Linked DNA regions of Homo sapiens: region 1 is linked to region 2. The links are contacts of gene promoters, found by promoter capture Hi-C in blood cells and fetal thymus (Javierre and others, 2016). All regions are on one chromosome and are shown on one strand. Each heading gives the region's core, a stretch centred on a gene start or on the middle of the fragment in contact. The rest is flanking DNA. Distances are from core to core; before and after follow the strand shown. Region 1 overlaps STN1 (STN1 subunit of CST complex). Region 2 holds the start of ITPRIP (inositol 1,4,5-trisphosphate receptor interacting protein).

Region 1 (7,568 bases), core at 2,344-4,843, 450 kb after region 2:
GAGAGATAACTGTATATCCTTCTAGACATTTATCTGTACATTTACAGATGCATACATATACAAATGTGCTCCTGTGGCTTTTTCATTGTTTCCAATCCCTGACTTATGCAAGAACCTTTTTGCTTTATAAAAAATGTGATCATCTTCTAAATTGACACTTCTCAATCTGAACACTATTTGGGGTAGGTGATCGATTGCCATGGGAACTATCCTGTGCATTGCAGGATATTTAGCAGCATGCCTGACCTTCACCTACTAGAGACCAGGAGCAACACCCCAACTGTGGCAACCAAAAATGTCCCTGGACATTGCCGGGTATCTCCTGGGACCATTGAGACTTGCTACTCTAAATAATGCTCTGTACCTTTTTTGGTACCAAGATAACACATGACAGGCACCTTTCCACATTAGTAGTTATAAATCTACCTCGTTCTTTTTAACATCCTCAGGGTATTCCATACTATGGGTACCTGTTGTGTATTTTTTAGACATTCCTTTTTGATGGGTACTTAGGGTATTTCTAACTTTTGCTGTCACAAATGGTGTTGCTGTGGCTATTTTTGCACAACTATATTTGTGAACTCATGTCAGTATTTCTGTAAGATTGACTCTTAAAAGAAGAGCTGCTGGAGCAGAGGGCATGGCCATTTAAGCTTTTGGTCAACACAGTGTGATGGGCCTGCCTGAAGGCTGTACCAGTTGACTCCCAGCAGAAGTGTAGGTGCTTGTTTGCCTCACTCTTTCAAGTTAAAAGTTCACCTTTTGCTGCATACCTTTAATATTGGGAGGAGCTAAGGTGGAAATGGGCCTTCTCAGGACCACTGACATCAGTGGGTGTGGACTCCGTTATGTGCAGCTCTCCCAGAGACTGATCAAATTCTGTGGTATTCCAGAAGTCTCACTATTCACAGGCAAGATTCCTGACGGGGAGCTTTTCTTAATATGACATTTCCTGATGTTGATTTACCCTAGTGACTCCCCTCTTTAGAGAGATTTTAGAAATTACAATACCATTTAAATAACTTTTGAAGCAGGTATCCCAGTCTACATAAGGGCGAGTGCCTCCCACACCGTCCCAGGATGGGAGTCCTGGCATGGGAAGGCCGGGTGGGAGTTGGTTGCTTCCTGGAAGTTGGAGAAGCTATGGGGGCAGCTCACCTTGAGCCCTGCTCTGGGACACACCTTTCCTCCCAGGCCTTTAGAGAGCAGCCCTTCCTGAGGAGCAGCAGTCCAGGGCAAGGCGTGGTGGGGCTGGGTACTTCCTCCTGTGAATCATTGTGATCAAGCACAAATAGATCTCTTGTCGCCATCTCTGACTTCATCTCTCCACTGCTTTGTAGTCACCTTTCTCCTGAAGCCCTGCCTCAGGGAAATGGTTAAAATAAGTCAACACTTCTGTTTGCCTAGTGCTTTCCTAGGTTCAGCAGCTCTCACACATGACCTTGTTTAATCTTCGTCATAACCTTGTGAGCTGAGAGAAGGCAGGTGTTCTCAAGATGCCCCCTCCAGTAAGGCAGGTCAGACAGGCATTCTTGGGCTGTCTTTAAGGAGGAAACTTACAGCTATTTGTTTGCATGCCTATTTTCTTTCTTCCTTTCTTCCTCTCTCTTTTTCTGTTTCTTTTTTTTCTTTCTCTTTCTCTCTTTTTTTGTTACTAGATTCACTGTGGAACATGAAGGTGAAACCTGTTGTGTGCTGCTTCCCTCTTAATCTGAGCTGGTTAAAAAAGACTAAGTTGGCCAGGTGCGGTGGCTCACGCCTATAATCCCAGCACTTTGGGAGGCCAAGTCGGGTGGAATCACTTGAGGTCAGGCATTCGAGACCAGCCTGGTCAACATGGTGAAACCCTCATCTCTACTAAAAATACAAAAATTAGCTGGACGTGGTGGTGCACGCTTGTAATCCCAGCTACTCGGGAGGCTGAGGCGGGAGAATCACTTGAACCTGGGAGGCGGAGGTTGCAGTGAGCTAAGATCGTGCCACTGCACTCCAGCCTGGGCGATAAGAGTGAGATTCCGTCTCAAAAAAAAAAAAAAAAAAAAAAAAGGAAAAAGAAAAAGACTAAGTTATGTCTACCTTTGAGAGCAGAATGTGTTTCAGTGGATAGGCTAGCTTTACTCTCATGCTAGCCTGTCCTTGCAGGGTTTTTTTTTTTTTTTTCTCCTTTTATTTTTCCTTGTGGTTGGGAGAAGCAAGAAAACTGATGCAACACAAGACAGGTGTCAGGGCCCAGAAGAAGGAGTCATGGGGTGGAGATTGGAGGCCTTGATCACTGTGCCTCGCTCAAAACTATAACAACAAATAACAAAAATGTGTTATGAGTGTTGAAGAAGAAAGTTGTCCCTTAAAAGTATGCAATTCCAGCTTTTTTTTTGTTTTAACCTCATTGCCCCAATGAACCAACTCCCAAGGACGTGTCCTCTGGGCAGAACTGGTTTGACACTAGGCCAAGTATCAAACACCACATTAATGGTGTAGGGAAGATGATTATTATGTAATCTTTAGAAACTATCCTGAATACTAATTTGGAAGTCTGGATGACACAACTGCTGTGTTACCTAAGAACACTCTCTCTCTCAACTATTTTTCCTATTTAGGTAACCAGAGAAGACAAAGACCTGCACAGAAAGATCCACCGGATCATTCAGCAGGACTGCCAGAAACCAAATCGTAAGTGGTATAATGTACAAGTGATGCCCTGGTGCCCTGGAAGGGGATACTGTCTCCCGGGGAGCACTGGATGGAGAGTCAGGAGACCCGGGACTTTTCCCAGTAGTGACTTGGAAAGGTGATAGTCAAAGTACCTGCCCTCCCTGAGCCTCCATCTCCTCTCTAAAGGAGTGTTGGGCTAGCACAGTTGTTGTGATCTTGGCTGTACATAAGATTCAACCTTGGAGCCCTCTGAACATTCAGAGCCCAGATTCTACCCTGGGGATTTTGTTTCCATAGAGGATGAGGTGGGGGCTAGACAAGGAATTCTGATACAGTGAGGTCACCACACTAGGACGTTTTGATGTCATTCTGCTTCTCATGTTCTCTCTGATTTGTGTTATTTCCTATTTCATGCTTGCCCCCCTTCTTTGAACACAAACCTGACATTTCCCTCTATTCTAACATCAAAGCCTTTCAGTGTTGGAAGGGATGGTTCTAGACATGACTGTTTATGAACGGTGTAATTCAGTCATCTTGGAAACTGTTAATTTGCAAAAGACATGGTTTAGAAAATAGTTTTGGTAGAGTTAGTTCAGCCCCTAGTGGTTAGACACTGAAACTGTAGCTACTCTGACAAGGAACAATACCATTTCCACACTAGTTAGAGAAGGAAGCATTAGTCTATCTTTAAATCCTATGTAAACTGACCGGTCTTAAAGGCGACTTTTCAAAGTCTAGCTTTTGCAAACACATACTATAATAAGAAGTGTTGGAAAAGTTTGTTAATGACCCCAGGTCCCTGATCTGCCAGTGAACTCCACCTCCAGTCCTTCGGCCCATACATCCCTGGGGCCTGGACCTGTGCCAGGTTGAGTCAGTGGGTGAAGCTGGGCCAGGTTTCCAGCACTGGTGTTTATGGTAGACAGCCCTAGTTAGCCTTTAAGAAACCATGAGGTCGGATCCCAGAGTGGTGTGACAGCAGCTCTTAAAATAAACTCAAAGCAATATATTATTTCAGTGCAAGTGAATGGACTTTGTTCACTTCATTCAGAACAATAAAAGCAAATATCCTTTAGTTGAGGGAAAAGCCCATCTGTCCACAATTGAAGGAGCTTTTGAGAGCAGTGCAATGTGGGATTCCTCAGCCAAGAAGGGATGAGAAGATGCTCCCAAGATAACATCTCTGCAGTCACCCTATTCGCAGGCCTCCTGGCCAGGTTCTTATTTTCATCTGCATTAGGAATAGAATGGATTGAACCCTAGGGCTAGTAAAGCACATGAAAAGAATTCACATTTCATTTGGACTTGGCTCTCTGAAGTGTCCTGAAAGTAGCAGGTTTAACATCTACATCTACCCACAGCTCATCAAGTGGACAGGCCCTGCCACTCAGTCTGTGAATGGGAGCCTCTAAAAGCCACTAGCCAATCACCTGGCACTACTACACTCCCAGGAGCTGAATTCTGAAGCCTGAGCTACTGAGAATGCTGATAAAAGATGTTATAAGGACTGTGTTGGAACCTGCTGTGACCACCCCGCTTCATAATGTTATAACATAGCAATTCAGAATAGTAACGTATGCCCCTCATGAAAAGCCAAGCAGTGCAAAAATCCACTCCAAAAAGCCAGACTCCCTCCCAGCACTGAGCCCCAGCTTCTGTGTTCCCCTCTCCAAAGGCAGTGGTTGTTATTAGTTACTTGCATATCCTGTTGGATATGTGTTTTCTATCAGGGATAAACTATACAGATATGCACTTACAAACATATCATATTATTTATCCTTGACAGAAAACACAAGTGAAGTTTAGCCGACGATATACATTGTCCTACACCTTGTATTTTAGATCTAACATTGCCTTCTAGAGGTCAACAGTACACATGAAAGTGCCTACGTCTTTTCATTAGCTGGACAGCATGCTGTTACATGTATAGGTAAATATCCGACCCTCAGTCTAACCATACCTACTGGGCCTTTAGTTCCTTTCTAGCCTTTCAAACAGAATATAGCCTGGAGTTTTTCCTTGTCAGGATGATTGGTAGAAGGACTTGAAGTCATTTATGAGTGTCTCACAAAGGCTAACCCTTCAATAATGAAAGGACTATGAACATCAAGCCTGTCTTAGGTCCCTGAAGGATTGATACTTGTTCTCTGAAGATGGGCAATGTGGCGGCATTGTGAGGAGCTGTGCTCTGGAGCCACCTTGCCTAGGTTTGAATCCCGGCTTTGCCACTTGCTAGCTGTGTAATGTTGGGCAAGTGCCTTGGGTTCTTTAAATGCAAAGTGGGGATAATAATAGTACCTACAAGATGGGTTTTTATAAGAAGTAAATGAATTGGCATTTAGAAAGTTAGAAGAGTACTCAGTGCATAATTATGATCCAAAAAGTATTAAATAAAAATGAAGTTCTCTTTCCTAATGGCACAAGTGGTAACCCCTAATTCTCTAGCCTGCAGGCCTGAAGGCTCACCCTCTACTTGGTTTAATATTGATCTGGAAGGAGGCAGTTTCAGATAGAATCTGTATGTGGATTTTGCTGTATTATTGTTGGAGTAAAGTTGACAAAATCTGGATTTTGGCTTTCAGTATGGGTACAACAATGGCAAATTATCCAAAAGAGCTCTATGTTGAACATGTCTTTTTATCTCTAACTTTTTACTCTGAAAATATTCCAATTTATCAAAAAAAAAAAAATTAAAAGACTGGTACAATAAACACCGATATACCCTTCACCTAGATTGACTAAAAACTTCAGTTTGTATTTGCTAAGCATGCAGAAATTCTCCTATTTGATCACCAAATCATTTCACACCGAAGAAAATTAACATTTGATGAGTTCCAAAATGGCAGCCTTTCACTAAATGTTACTTTATACCATTAGCTTTTCAAAAATCTCCCATGTATTTAGCTCAGGTTCATTTTTTACTATCCCAGAGCTGGAGAGAACTGCTGCTTTTGGTAGAAACTGAGTACCATATAACACTACTTATACTGGAGGATTTTTTTTTTAAACTTAAGACAAACTTTTAAAAAAGACTTAAAGAAGTTTAACCTTTTGTAGTTATAGTAGTAGGTTATATCTGAAATGTATCTTTATGTCATTTGGGTCTCTAGAACATTAGCCTTTGTGGTTTCTGGTGGAGGTATGATGGGGTATAGTATGAATCAGGCTACATGTGAAAGTTCTTGGGAAAATATAAGGCGCAGTTATCACCGCTCATAGTGATCCGTCATAAGATAACTATGTCTGCCAGGCAAACACTTTTCAGAAAAGTCTGCTTCGGCTTGTGGGTTTGTTCCAGAAGAGTCGAATTATGTAATTGTACTAACCCCTGGGGAGCTCCTTGCTGGCCTTTCCTACTTTTACTGTTTTATAATAATTTCTCACTTAGAGAAGAATCTAAGGCCAGGCACAGTGGCTCACTCCCATAATCCCAATGCTTGGGAGGATTGCTTAGGCCAGGAGTTCGAGACCAGCCTGGGCAACATAGCAAGACCCTGTCTCTACAAAAAATAAAAATTAAAAATAGAGAGGAGTCTAAGTTCACATTACCGAAGTGACTGGAGATCACTTTTGAACAGCCTCACCAGATAACCCTCAGCAGAACAGCCTTTCTGACTAAATAGTTGAAGGCCTCTGAGACAGTCAGCATCACTGCTTTGGGCCCCATGGATGCCTGTAAGTCACCTTGAGCCCTGGGTCCAAGCATCCAGGCCTTGCAGAAACTAAAAGCTGAGCAGCACTAAATTCCCTCTGCTCCTCCCTACCGTGTGCAGGTCTGTGTGGTTGGAGCCCCTCACCCTCCATCATCAAACCTATCCTTGCTTGCTGGTCAGCTCTTCCTCCTTGAGAGGCTTTTCTTCTTGGGAAGGGATGAAGCTTTTCTAGAGCAGGAACTAAGTTACATTCATCTTCTTGGATTACGGATATGATGAACCAAATCATAGTAGTTCCCCCTGGTCTCTCATCCACACAGCCACCCTGAGAAGGAAGTGGTTTTGTTCCCGGGAGTGACTTTGTCCCAGTTGTAGAGCCAGGGCTTGAATTCTGGTGTGGTGGACTCCAGTGGCAGCTCCAGGTCTGCCAAGCTCTACTTGCTCCTCCTTGCTCAGCAATGCACACATAGTAGGTGTTCAGGAAGTCTATGGAGTGAATGTTGAAGAAACAGCCTGGAAGTATAGATGCCAGCAATCCCAGTTGGAAGGAGTAATGAGTGGACACAGCCACTAGAGGTCAGAATTTAGCAAATTTTTGTTAGCCCAGGAGCAGTCTCTGAACCTTAGGGTTGGAAAGGGCCTTGGAAGTGGTTTTCACCACAGCTGAGAACACTCAGGCCTAGGGATGGCTTGCCCAAAGCTACAGAAGTGCACCAAACCTTGAACCGTGCTTTGCCTCACACCGCAATACCTCTTCGAGCACCTTCCTGAAGCCTAAAGCATTTTTCATCTGTAAACAACTTTCAGTGACTTTGTGGAGCACCTTTTGTGTGCCAGATACTGGGTATACGGCAGAGAGAGACCATGCCTGCGCCTGCCATGGAGTTTTAAACTGTGACAACTGGAGAGGGTTTGCTTTTGGTAAAGAAGTTTGACTTTGACTCAAAGTTAGAAATACATTTTACATCATGACCCAATAAATTATATAATTCTAATGCATAAGATGTATATGAAATTAAGTTTCATGAATTAATATGTATCCAAATTACAATGCAAGATATTCTGTAACGTTCTATTTCTGCTCTCTTTGAGTTTGGTAAGAAAAAGTTGCTGATCGCAACCTACAAAAATTGGTTTCGTTATCCCCTAATAGGCACAACCCCCAGTTTGACTACTGCCGACGACCTAAAAGGAAGGAGCTGAGGCAAAATTAATACAAGCAGAGAGTTGATTTGGGCCAAGTTTCAGGATTGCAGCTGGGGA
Region 2 (6,953 bases), core at 3,986-6,485:
CATTTTTTTCAAAAGAGGTTAACATAGGAAGAGTAAAAAGAAAAGGGAACATAACAGTTTGTATCACATTCAGTAAACATAACAATTGTTTTTAAGGAAACTGTCTTTCAATTATAATGCACTTGTATGTGTGAGTATACTGGGTTGTGAAATAAAATGTATTTTCAAAAATCTTTGAAAAACGTAGGTTCTGTAGAATCTAATGATTCCTACCACGTGAGTTGATATGAGGATTAAATGAGTTGGTAGGTATAAAATGCTTGAGTAATACCTAGCAGATGGCACAAGTTTTAGCTATTATTATTCAGTCACTAACCAGCAATGTGACCTTGAGTATGTGACCTAACTTCTCTGGACTTAATTTTTGTCAGTAAATAATCTCTAAAGGCCCTGTGGGCTCCGACATTCCCAGAGGAGGGACGTGACCAGCACTGACCTTGAGGAATGAAATAGCCAAATGCAAATCATTCGTCTTGTTCAACTGACACCTCTGAGGTCTCAGCAAAGCAGCCTGTTCTGTGAAACATCCTCTAAACTAACTTGCTATTATCTTGTGAAATTCCATGTGAAGTTGAAATCAGGGTAGTGGGAAATTGACCAAATCAAGGGAAGTGCCCTTTTTTCCCCTCCATCAGATGCTTAATGACTAGTATAGGCTTCCTGTCTCTCCCATTGTCATGCATTTTATTCCATATACTGGAATAACCACAGATGGGGTGAACAGGAAATCTGTCCCTGTGTATTTAATCTTTAAAAAATTTCCAGTGCTCCTAACCGTGAGATGTGGTGTGAAGCTCCCCTGCAGTTGGTTCAGACTTTGTCACAAGTCACTTTTTTTTTTTTTTTTTTTTTTTTGATACAGGGTCTCACTCCCTCACCCAGGCTGGAATGCAGTGGCACGATCTCGGGTCGCTGCAACCTCCACCTCCCAGGTTCAAGTGATTCTCGTGCCTCAGCCTCCAGAGTAGCTGGAATTACAGGCACGCACCACCACACCTGGCTAATTTTTGTATTTTTTTTTTTTTTTTTTTTTGTATAGACGGGGCTTCGCCATATTGGCCAGGTTGGTCTAAAACTGAACTCATGTGATCTGCCCACCTTGGCCTCCCAAAGTGCTGGGATTACGGACAGGAGCCACAGCACCCAGCTGACAAGTCACCTTTCACTATGGAATGTGAAGCCTCATCTAGCACTTAAATGATCATGAAGAACATTCCATCTACTTTCACACACACATGTATACACATAAACAAGCCAATAGAAAACTGGGGGATGTTGTAACAGAGTCTTCACACATAAACACATAAAGGTGGCCAATAACAATGTTCTGTTCAGCCTCACTCATAATTTAAAAACTGCAAATCAAAACATTGAGATTAGGGGTTTTTTTCACCTATAAAAGAAGCAAACTAAATTAAAGTTATAATAGAAAATAGCCAATGTTGGCAACAATGTAGAGAAAAAGGCAATCATCATACTATGGGAAATAGTTCAAATTGGTGAGATCTCTTTGGAGGGCAATTTTGTAATATATACCAAAATAGTAAATGCACATATCCTTTGATCAGCCCTGAAACTATCAAGGCACTGACCCAAAATAGCCACCTATATACAAGCTTCTGATGTGAGAAAAACAAATCCTTATTTGTTTAAGCCTTTTATAGTCTTAGACACTATAAAAATTACAGTCTGGTATTCCGTTACTTGCAGCCAAACATATTCCTAATTTATAATTTTTAAAAAGAATAGGGGTGAAGGAGGACATTCATATCTTGCACTGACTTTAGAAGATTTCTAGTATTTCCCCATTAAGCATAACACTGGTTTGGGGGCTGAACTTTACCCTTTGTTTTTACCATGTTACAGAGGGTTTGTTTATATGTCGATGCCAAATTTTATCTGATGGCTTTTCAGCATATATGGTGATGATCTTTCCATTTTTCTCTTTTGATCTATTAATGATGTAATATTCTTTGGTGTGCTGCTGGAATTCTATTTGTTAATATATTATTTTAAATTTCTGAAATAATTTATATATTTATAAACAATAATATATTACTTTTCTTTCCCCTTTTCAATGAGCTATTTTTATTAGATTTTTGACTGATATATTACCAACTGCCTAAATAAAAAAGAATTTCAATCATTGAGGTTTTTTATATGTAAATGACTAAACTTTTTATTTCTACATATTATAGCTGTACTTTTTCAAATTTACCTGTTCTTTTTTCATAGTCCTATGTCCTATCATTTTATCTCTGTATTTTGACCATAACTATTTGATACTCTTTTTCAAATTGTTCTATTGTCTCAGATACTTAAGGGGCTAATTTTCCTGTTTATTACATTTACCAGTTCACACCCTCATGTGGTTCATTTCCTAGTCTGGTTTTTAATTTTTTATTATAAGCTTAATGATTATTAATAATTCTTAATTTTAAGAAATTAAAATAATATAAAGAATATTTTAATTTCTTATCATGAAACATTTTAATTTCTTATTGTAACTTCAATGGGAGTTGTTTATTCTGCTAGGGACCAGGATAAACAACCGAATTTTACGTTTGCTTCTGACAGGGCCAAGGGGATTCACCACTTTGAAACAGGTTTTTTGTGTTTTTTCTTGACATTAGGATTCCCTCAGCACGTGGGTAGTATAAATTGGGAGCTCACACCTATGCATAGTATAGGCAGGCTAGGGGTTTTCATTTCTATAGAAGACATTTTAAAATTCATCCAGGGCCGGGATAAACCACAAGTTTCCTTCCCGCGACCCTGAGCCAATGGGGAGAGGGCTTTTTTCTATCCTCCTCTTACTAAAGGGCAGCCTTTCCAGGGTTCCAGCCTTAGGCAGAGATCTCAAGTCCAGATCCCTGTCTTTATAGAACTCAAGGCCTGAATAGATACTAACCCCAATCCCTGAGTGGGTACTCACCCCTGGTCCTTAGTCATTTGGGCTTATATTCATGTCATGCTTTTGAGTTCCCTTGACCTATCTCACACCTGGAGACCCCCTTTCTTCCCTTCCGTTGTTGATATATTTTATTCAGCCTTTCACTGTTCGAAGCAGGAGTTCCCTGACTTCTTGACTCCTCAAGTTCCCATAACTTGAATCTTTGTACTTTCCTATCTTTTAAAAAACATTTCTCGAGTTAGCACAGTGTTCTGTAGAAACGACAGGAGGGGTGTCCAATCCAGACATGAGGGTTCCAGGAAGACTTCCTGAAGGAGTAACTGCCTGTTCTGAGACAGGAAGACTGAGCATACAATTAGTCGGGCAAAATAACATGCATGTGCACTGGGGTGACAGTTTGGAGGAGGAGGTGGGGTGGCTGTGGCAGGCAGAAAGTAGAGTACATATGAATATCCAAGGGGAGAGAAAAAGCATATCATGCAAACAGCATATCAAAGAGCATATCACGTTCTGGGAAGCACAGGTTCCAAGAACTGCAAGGAGTTTTGTGTGGGACACAGAGTGAGATATGAGGCTGGTGAGATAAGCAGAGGCCAGTTCATGAACGACTTACAAGCCAGGTAGAAGGGTGGACCTTAGAACAGACAGGAACCAATCAGAACACAGAAGGTGAAATCATCAGGTTAAAAGCAAAACAAATATAATAAATATTCCTTATATAAATATACATGGCTGGTTAGAAATTGCTGAAACAACTTTGCAGACGGGATGACAATCCCAGAGGGCATTCAAGCACTAACCTTGGCATTCCAGCACAACGCTGAACTCTTAGCCCAAGGATGACAAAGCTCAGCCCAGCGCTCTTACTTCACAGAAATTTCCCCCACCTGCTTTGCGGAGGGTGTGAGTAACCCACCGGACCAACTTCTAGACATTTTGGAAATACAGCTCTTTCAAGACCGTTTCCCCAGATCGCCCCCACCACCTCCAACACACATACTGGCCCCCAAAATTCTGCCATAACCTCTTACGTAAGGAAAGAATTTGAGCAGCAGTAGAAACTTGAAAACAAAAGTACCCTGGGCCAAGGGCCAGGGAGTCTATTTTTAGAACATTTTCTCATTGCCTGTTTATCTTTCAGACTCAGCCAAAAAGTCTTCCAGGCGAGTGTTAAAGGAAAAGACGAAAAAAAGGTGATCTAAGACCAAATAGCAGTAGCAATGGTGATCATTTTGGACACTGTGTTCCAATTTCCCCAATGTGCCTTCACTGGCATTTGGTGCCCCCAAAGCCGCTTAATGGAGAATTCATTCAAACCCTGCTCTGCCTTTTGTACTGATGGTAGGATTTGGGCAGGTCAAAGGGAAGACAATAGAAGTTATGGATTTCATAAACTATTAAGCTCGACCAGAACGCTGCTGCTGCTCCTCCAGGCCTCAGTTCTCTCGTTTCTAACATAGGGGTAGTAACACTTGATCTACCGTCACAACAGTAACCAGAAACTACCGCGCCTGTCCCGTACAGTATCCGGTCACTGTTCTCCTTTGTGCCCGGTTAATCCCGGAGAAAAGCAACCATGCATTTGATTATCATAAAAGTCGGGCGCGGTGGCTCACGCCTGTAATCCCAGGCGCTTCGGAAGGCCGAGAAGGGAGTTCGAGACCAGCCTGACCAACATGGAGAAACACCTTCTCTACTAAAAATACAAAATTAGCCGGGCGTGGTGGCACATGCCTGTAATCCCAGCTACTCGGGAGGCTGAGGCAGGAGAATCGCTCGAACCCGGGAGGCGGAGGTTGCGGTGAGCCGAGATAGCGCCACCATTGCACTCCAGCCTGGGCAACAAGAGCGAAACTCCTTCTCAAAAAAAAAAAAAAACGGTAGTAAGCTATTTTAATCCTTTCAAGCTGCAAAAGAGAAAAAGGCTGGCGTTTTGTCTAGAGTTATATTTTCCTCCAAGAGACTAAATAGGTGGCCCCAGGAATTCCGCCACTTGTAAAACGCGCCGCAGAAAACTCTCCCCGACTGGTAAGGACTTAACCCCTTCCGCTCCGCGGCTTAGGACGACTTTTAAGGGCGTCCTCCCCGCGCCCCTGTCCACTCGCTCCAGTTTACTCCACTGGCCTGATTCCGTCTCTCCCAGTCACTCTCCAGTTCTGCCGTGCCGGGGAAGTTTCTGGGGGCTCACTGGGAAGGTCTTCCCGGCGGATCCTGGGCCCAACCACCGAAACCCACACGGTCCTCCTTAAGGAGCTTCCGGGGCCGCGGGTAGAGGCGGGTGTTTTGTTCTTATAAGGAGGAAAAAGTTTTTGTGACATCCAGGAAATGAGTAACTCTGAAGTTCAGTAGAGCCGGCCGCTGCAGGCCAGAAGGTGGGAGCCAGCGGGGGCATCGCCGCCCGCGCCCCTCTAAGTGCCGGGCCGCAAGCTCCACCGCAGCCGCCTGCAAGCAGCGGCGCCTCGGCCCTCGACCTGCGCGCAAAGCCTGTGCTGGAGCCGTCCTCCCGCGGCGGGGACCGGGACCGGGGACCCAAGCCAATCGTAAGTCCCAGGGCAGCCTAGTGTGCTGAAGGAAGAAGGGCGCGATGGAGAGCGCGAGCTCGGAGGAGCTGTGTCGGAGATGGCTGCCGACAGAGGGGGCGCAGGAGGGTGTGGGGAGCGCGGGCGCCTGCTCCTCCCGGGTGGGGGCTGACTTTGGAGACCCCCTTCCCTTAAAGCGCGCGTGCCCAGGCGGGCGTATTGTCTCCTCGCGGTCCCGCATCCTGTTCCCGCCGCGTCGGGGGATGCGTCCCGGGCGCTCGCTCCAGCCAGGGCTGCGGGCAGCTCCTCCTCGAGGCGCGCGCAGCCTCGGAGCCCAGAGCGGGACCACATTTTTGTTCCTAGTGGCCAGGTGACCCGTTACTTCTCACATCTGAGCAGAGCGCTACCGAAGAAAGAAAAGCCGGTTCGCCCTGCTCATTTGCTGCCCCCTTTTCCCCTTCCCCTTCCCTCCCTTCCTGTAAGGGAGGAATAGGCGTGAAGTTTTTTTTTCTCGGTTCATGGTAGTGAAGTTATGGGGCTGCTTCAGGCCGGATAAAATCCCCGCCGCTTCCTCTTTCGGGACTATTAGTGGGCCAGACCTCACGCTGTGCAGACTTGCTCTTGGGCTGCAAATAACTCTCTGCCCCTTCACCCCTAACCCCACCCTCAACCCCATCCCTGTGACTTTGCCATTCTGGCCGCCTGGTGAAGACTCCCGGGGCGGGACTCCCCATCCAAAACGCTTTCTCTTAAAAAAAGAAAAAGAAAAAGAAAAAAAAAGCCACCGACCAGGAAGGTAAAATATTTTACGGAACCAGGCAGGGGCCTCATTTTGCCTTTTGCCCCTCTGCTGGTATGAGAAAAGCACCCTTTCACAACTAGTAGAGTACCAGATACTGGTCTCATTTCACAAACAGTAGAGTACCAGATATTGGTCGCAATCTGGACTCTGGTCTTTTGGATCTAAATCGGGGTCGCGGTCTATTTTCTTGTTCTTTTTTTGGATATGACCCAGTGCTCTTGCCTTTTACAAACCGAGTCTATCTGACTGCCAGCTAAAGTTCATCTGTGGTTGGTGCAGTTTTAGGCCCAGGTGAGCCCTGAAAATAGAGTATCAGAAAAGTGGATTACTGTCTTTCCTCCTTACGAAAACAGAATAGGCTGTGTTTTTGAGTCCTCCCTCCAGCCCTCGTGCCTAAGTGGCTTTCATTGTTTGCTAATTCCCTGTATGTTGCGGCTGCTCTGGGCCATTCTGCCTTCGGATTTTCTCCACTTGTGGGTAACCATGAAGTAGTTATACTGACTCTCTGCTCTCCCTGGGTGCATTCTTCTCATGCTCAGTAAATCTACATTTTACGTAAGATAAAGTAAGCATGTGAAATTATAGCTATCTGTTTGGCAACAAAAGGAATGCAGTTTTGTTTTCGGTTTTGTTTTTTGCATGACTGAGTTCCCAAGCTTAACTTTTCCCTTTGGCATCCTGAGCTTGGGGTCCTAAGGTTGTATTTTCCTTTCACAGC

Evidence for each region. Contacts are between HindIII fragments. The CHiCAGO score rates a contact against its expected background, and 5 or more counts as called.
Region 1: a fragment that was not itself captured here is called in contact with the fragment with the promoter of ITPRIP in region 2 in 1 of 17 cell types (total B cells); the score reaches 5.9 in total B cells.

The regions. Positions count from the first base shown.
Region 1 is chr10:103,884,174-103,891,741 of GRCh38, reverse strand. STN1 (STN1 subunit of CST complex) reads left to right here. Exons shown (of 10, transcript NM_024928.5): 9 at 2,598-2,670. Among named protein-coding and RNA genes, the nearest start is that of STN1, 30 kb to the left of the region's middle. The HindIII fragment of the contact is 5,875 bases long and covers 656-6,530 here.
Region 2 is chr10:104,336,747-104,343,699 of GRCh38, reverse strand. ITPRIP (inositol 1,4,5-trisphosphate receptor interacting protein) reads left to right here and starts at 5,235. Exons shown (of 2, transcript NM_001272013.2): 1 at 5,235-5,454. It also overlaps a transcript of CFAP58 not described here. RefSeq lists enhancers at 3,315-3,609, 6,358-6,557 and a cis regulatory region at 2,673-4,092. The HindIII fragment of the contact is 4,481 bases long and covers 2,413-6,893 here.